Linked DNA regions of Homo sapiens: region 2 is linked to region 1. Evidence: promoter capture Hi-C in human tissues and cell types (Jung and others, 2019). All regions are on one chromosome and are shown on one strand. Each heading gives the region's core, a stretch centred on a gene start or on the middle of the fragment in contact. The rest is flanking DNA. Distances are from core to core; before and after follow the strand shown.

Region 1 (2,684 bases), core at 111-2,610:
TGAGGAGGGGTGAGGGCGCCAGGAGACTGAGGGTCTGGCCAGAGATAAGACCCACAATTTCTTCCAAACTACAACTTGCTCCGTTCAACATACATACACACACACACGCATGCACTTGCCACCCTCCAGGCCTTCGTTCACTCTTCCCTCTCCTTGTGCCCCTTCCCCTATCACCTCGTGCCAAGTAAGACTGAGCTCTCAAGCCTTCGCTCAGATGCCATCTCTTCCAGGAGCCCTTGCCTGGTGCCTTTCACCCAGAGCTTCTGCCCTGGTTTGGACCTCCCTCAGGATACCCATAATGCATGTGTGAATTCTGGCTGGCTCCATGTCCTTTGGCCTCAGTTCCCCCATCTGTTAAATGGAATAGTAACACCTAACCCATGGTGTAGTTACCGAGTTGATGAAGTACAGTAACTGACTTGTACTAAGTGCTGAGCAAATGTCAGTCTTTACCACCAGCAGCAGCAGCAGCATTTTAATCTCTGTATCTTTAGCACTGAGCACAGGGCTGAATACATAATTGGTACTAAATACTTGCTTGGTGGAGGGATGGATGGATGGATGGTTGGATGGATGGATGGATGGATGGATGGATGATGGATAAATGAGAGATCTAGTATGTTTCCAAAATAAGAGACAATCTTTGCTGGGGGGCGAGGGGGCTAGGAAGAGCCTGAAAGAAACTAACCTTCATCGTACACCTGCCATGCATCAAAGCTCAACATATATAAGTTGTCTAATTTGAGCCTCACAATAGCAAGATATTACTGCAGAATAAGGAAGTGGCTAATTCTGAGAGGTTAAGTCGGTGGATCAGTGTCACACAAGATGTAGTCAGGACCAGGGACTTTGATGGTCCTCGATACCTGGAAGGAGGAGGAGGAGGACTTGCTCCAGGCCTTAGCTACTGTCAATCTTAGACTGAAAATTCCTAGGGCATCTCTGTGGGCAGGGCAGGGCCACCCCACCCAGGCTGTCACATAAAGTGCTCAGCTGAGAACCTAGCTTTGGAGAACAGCAGAAAGGAAAGGCCGGGCCAGCGGAGGTGGCTTGGGGGCTGCCTGTGGAGGGTGGCTGGGGGACTCTCCTTCCTTCTCCAGCTCCTCCAGCACCACCCTCAGCAGCCTCCAAGAACAGAAGGAGTTAACGCTGGGATTAACTTCTTGAAGGAACCTGAAGTTTTTTAATCCTTGTTCTTTCCTCCTTCCTTCTCCCTCTCCCTTCCTGATCTTTACTCCGCCTGTGGGTCCCTCCTCCTTACTCTCACCTCCCCAACTCCAAAAACACTCTGATTGCCAGACTGGGTCAATGGTTAACACTCAACTGGCTTTATATAAGCCTGCCACCTGCCTGCTTGGCTGCATCTTTGGTCCTTCTGTTACCCAGCTCCTGGAGGCAGTGGCTGTAGCAGCCCTTGCTGCTCCACACCATGGCCACCTGCTGGCAGGCCCTGTGGGCCTATCGCTCCTACCTGATCGTGTTCTTCGTGCCCATTCTCCTGCTGCCTCTGCCCATCCTCGTCCCCAGTAAGGTAAGGACTTGGTGTTCTGAGCACAGATAACTCCAGGGGGCAGAGGAGGGACTGTCTGGGCCGGGGTTGGGCATCCTTAGGATCCAGCATAACTTCCTCACTGCCCCTGCCCTGGAAGTGAGGCTATCGCCCCCTGCTCCTCCTGAGGACTGAGGGCTAGGAGGTCAAAGGGGCTTTTGCTTGGCACCCAGTTGTAGGAGCCCAGCGTGAATTACTTAGGTGGGTTTGCAACCTACTGCCCTAGGAAACAGGAAACCAGTTCCATCAACAAGATGCAAGGGGGGCAGATGGAGCTGATCTACCTACTGTGTGCCCACCTAGCCCTGGACTGGGCTCCATGGCGGCTGAGATGGGCTGGCTGTGGGGAGGGGACGGCTGGGTAAGCAGCAGCAGAGTGAAGAGGGTTGGAAGGAGAATAGGAGAAAGCTGGCTGCAGGCGGTCTGCATCTTTAAGAGCATAAACAGGAAGAGAAAGAGTTCACCTGTGGATTCAAGGGCTAAGTCTGTGGAGGAGGAGGGGTGGGAGTTGGAAGAGGGGACCGCTGCAGGTAGACAGCACAAAAACTGTGCCCTGGATGGAGGGGGAGCTGGGCACAACCAGGCGTCACTGCCTCCTCCTCCGCCCCCAGCAGAAGTCATAACTTCATCTCTCATTAAATCAAGCCGCCAATGCCTGCCCTGCCCTAGGCACCCAGTAACCTTTTCCACCATCTTAAGAGGTCAGGCCTGACTGTCCCATTTGACAAATGGGGAAGGTGAGGTTAAGTCACTTAGTCAAAGTCCCAGGGCAGATCCAAGTTTCATGGAACTTGGATATTATACACTTTTGGGCCCCACTCTGTAAGAAAAAGGACACAAAAGTATTAATCTGAAATTAGTTTGGGGCTTTGGGAAGGGTCCAGGGGGAAGGCCTTGAAGTTCAATCTTCAGTCAGTCGGCCTCTGGCAAATCACACAGCTGGGAGGTTCAGAGCTGGGGGTGTGATCTGGTGCCAAAGCATGTCTTCTCTCCACCCTGCTGCCTCCTGCCCCACCCCACACCCCCAGAACTGCCCATCAAGCCATTTTCTTCCTTTTGTCATAGATAGAGAAATTGAGTCAGACTTTTTTGTTCATGGTATCCCAAAGGGGTGAGAGACTGGGGGTGATAGTGG
Region 2 (2,684 bases), core at 87-2,586, 160 kb after region 1:
CAGCTGAGGGCTTGGTCAAGAGGTCCACACACTGGCCAATTAGTGTCCAGGCTGGATCCCAGCATGGGCCCCACACCACTGTGTACTGGAATATTTCCGCTGGGGTAGAGGAACAAAGGCTATAACTTGTTCACAACATTACCCCTCTCTTCCTCCTTCACTCCAGAAGGGTCTCAGCTCACCTCCCATTTCACCCATCACAAACGTCCCTCAGCCAAACCAACTGCCTCATCTCTACTCACAGTGAAAGTCATGGTAGAATTTGAGTGGGGGCATGTTCCTCTCCACTGCCACGTTACCCCACGGAAGCCCCAAGTGCAAGATCTGACGCCGACGGGAGCAAGGCTGACCACTCTGCTCGGTGCCCACAAGTCGACCCATTAGCCGCCAGTCACGGATCTCAAACAGGTACCGTGGATAGTCCCTGATCCGAACTGTTACCAGAGGAAGGGTACACACTGGCTACTCAGGGGCAGTCTGAGCACTCTCGGGCCTATCTTTTTCCTCACCACTATTTTACCCATCTATATTTACAAAGTCAATTGAGAGAACAAGGGCAGGCAGTTGACACAGCAAGCTGAAAAATGACAGTGACCCTGGAGCAGGTGGTTAAGGGCATAGCACTGAGATCCAAGAGACACAATAACCTTAAAGATGACTGTGTTAGCTTTCCCTTTATGTTAGCCAAGCAATTTCACGGTGAAATTCAGGAACAAAGAAAGGGAAGGGAAGCCCACCCATCCCACTCCACCCACCCAAAACGGCACAGTTCCCAATATAACCTAGTTCCTCTGAAATCACTGAGAGCTCCCCAGAGCTCAGCGGGCAAACACGGGGTCTGCAAATAAAGGAAACACTACTTACCCAGAAAGCTCTTGACATTGCACTTGAGCATTCGACACCACTGAATGACAAGATCTAATCCCTCAGGGGGAAAAGGGCTGCCTGGATCAAGCTCTTGAACCTGTTCTACCACATGCTCAGGACCATGGAAGGAGGCATCTGCCAGAGCTACCAGTTCTAGCCCTGCTAAGCTCCAAGTAAGCAGTGCCCGGCGCATGGGTGTGTTGCCATAGAGACGACGGGAACGCTGGATGTAGATTTCAATGTTTTTGCGTTCCAAAGAGGCATAGAGCTCCTCAATTTTGCGGGCAGGCAACAACTCCCCATGCTGCTTCCGAAGGGCGGCCACTTTAGCATCCAGTAGCTGTAGTCTTTTGGCACTCTCCTTACTTTCATCCTTCATCAGCTCGTAGTTATCATGAAGTTTCACCTCAAAAACATCATCCAAGAAAACCCATGAGAAGTGCTCAACCTTTAAGAGTAGATCAGGTGGGAGTGGGACAGGGCTTGGAGAGGCCCAAGCACGAGTCCCTTGATGTAGTCCCTTCAGCCACTTCTGAACTCCCACAGCCTCATCTAGAGTTCGAGAAAAGTCATACTGATAAGGAAACTCCACCGAGACTGAGCCGAAAGAGAGGAGCCAAACACGGTTCCGGAGGGTCTGCAGCGCAGGGAAGGGGTTCCGGTGGAGGATCATCTCTTCCAGCTCAGGTAGCAGCTGCACCTCCACCTCCTTGAAGTTGAAGATACTATTGCCATCAAAGCCAGCAGCCAGCTCTGGACAGTATGCCTGCAGGGAACCTCCATGCCGGCTCAGTGACACACTCTCTGCAGCCAGGGTAATGAACTTGTCCTCAGCTACAAAAGCTGTGAGCTTGGCTGTGCTCACCTCCAGGGTTAGGTTTAGCAGCCGCTTTGGGGGTAATGGCTCAGGGGCACGGCCTTCTAGCTCAGAAGTAGTTCCTGAAGTCTCTAGTGCAAGGGATGGTACAGTCTCAGGAAACACAGTGGCTCTTAGTAGGTCTCGGCACTGTAGAGTGGCCAGGACATGCTGGTACAGGTACATGTGATCTGGGGGGCTCCAAAGTAAGGTCAGCCCTGCACCACACTGAACCTTTAGGGAGCAGAAGAAAAGGATCTGTCAATTACCATGTCACAAAACAGTAGAGATGGCAAGGATTATGACACATGCACACCTGGCTCAAGAACCATCTCCACCCAGAAGTTGTTCCTGAGTAATCACATTAATTACTGCCTTGCTTTGTTCCTGTTAGCACTAATGTGCTGAGCTGACAGTTGATAGTGTCTGACATTTAAGAGCACTTATACTTTTTAAGTTCTCTTCAACTGGATTCTAAATTGTCTGAAAATAGGGGCCATGTGTCTTAATTCTTTGGTATCTACCATAGTATACTCAGTATAGACAGCAGGTACTCAATAAATCATCTGGCTTCATGTTTCTGCTTATGAGTTACCTTTCTATCAGCAACTACACTGTCTAGTAACCACTGCAACAGTCAACTTGAAAAGGTTTCATGAGTTGATTGCATCAATTTAATTCTCAAAATATAGCATAATAAAGTACTGAGCACACAAGTCAATATGGCAGCTGACTTACGTAAAAGTATGCCTCAAGGAGAGAGTAGTGTCTTTGTCAGCTTCTGAATAGCTAAGTGGACAGAGAAAAGTAAAATTCCAGGACATAAAATTCTCAAGTTCTAGTCTCTAAAAAGGAAACTCTTCAGTTTCCAAAGGACGGTGAAGTCTGACAAGGAGGAACTAACGCCCCACCCTCCTCCTAAGAGGGTCCCATGTCCATTTGTTACCCTGAGGATAAAGAT

The links. Contacts are between HindIII fragments. The study calls those that stand out against the background at their distance.
Region 2: a fragment that was not itself captured here is called in contact with the fragment with the promoter of SLC13A2 in region 1 in 1 of the 25 tissues and cell types used here (hippocampus).

What each region holds. Positions count from the first base shown.
Region 1 is chr17:28,472,284-28,474,967 of GRCh38, forward strand. SLC13A2 (solute carrier family 13 member 2) reads left to right here and starts at 1,361. Exons shown (of 12, transcript NM_003984.4): 1 at 1,361-1,531. The coding sequence starts at 1,430. The HindIII fragment of the contact is 27,138 bases long and covers 1-2,684 here.
Region 2 is chr17:28,633,653-28,636,336 of GRCh38, forward strand. It overlaps BLTP2 (bridge-like lipid transfer protein family member 2), which reads right to left. Exons shown (of 39, transcript NM_014680.5): 16 at 865-1,957; 17 at 243-434; 18 at 1-99. Among named protein-coding and RNA genes, the nearest start is that of BLTP2, 10 kb to the right of the region's middle. The HindIII fragment of the contact is 6,597 bases long and covers 1-2,684 here.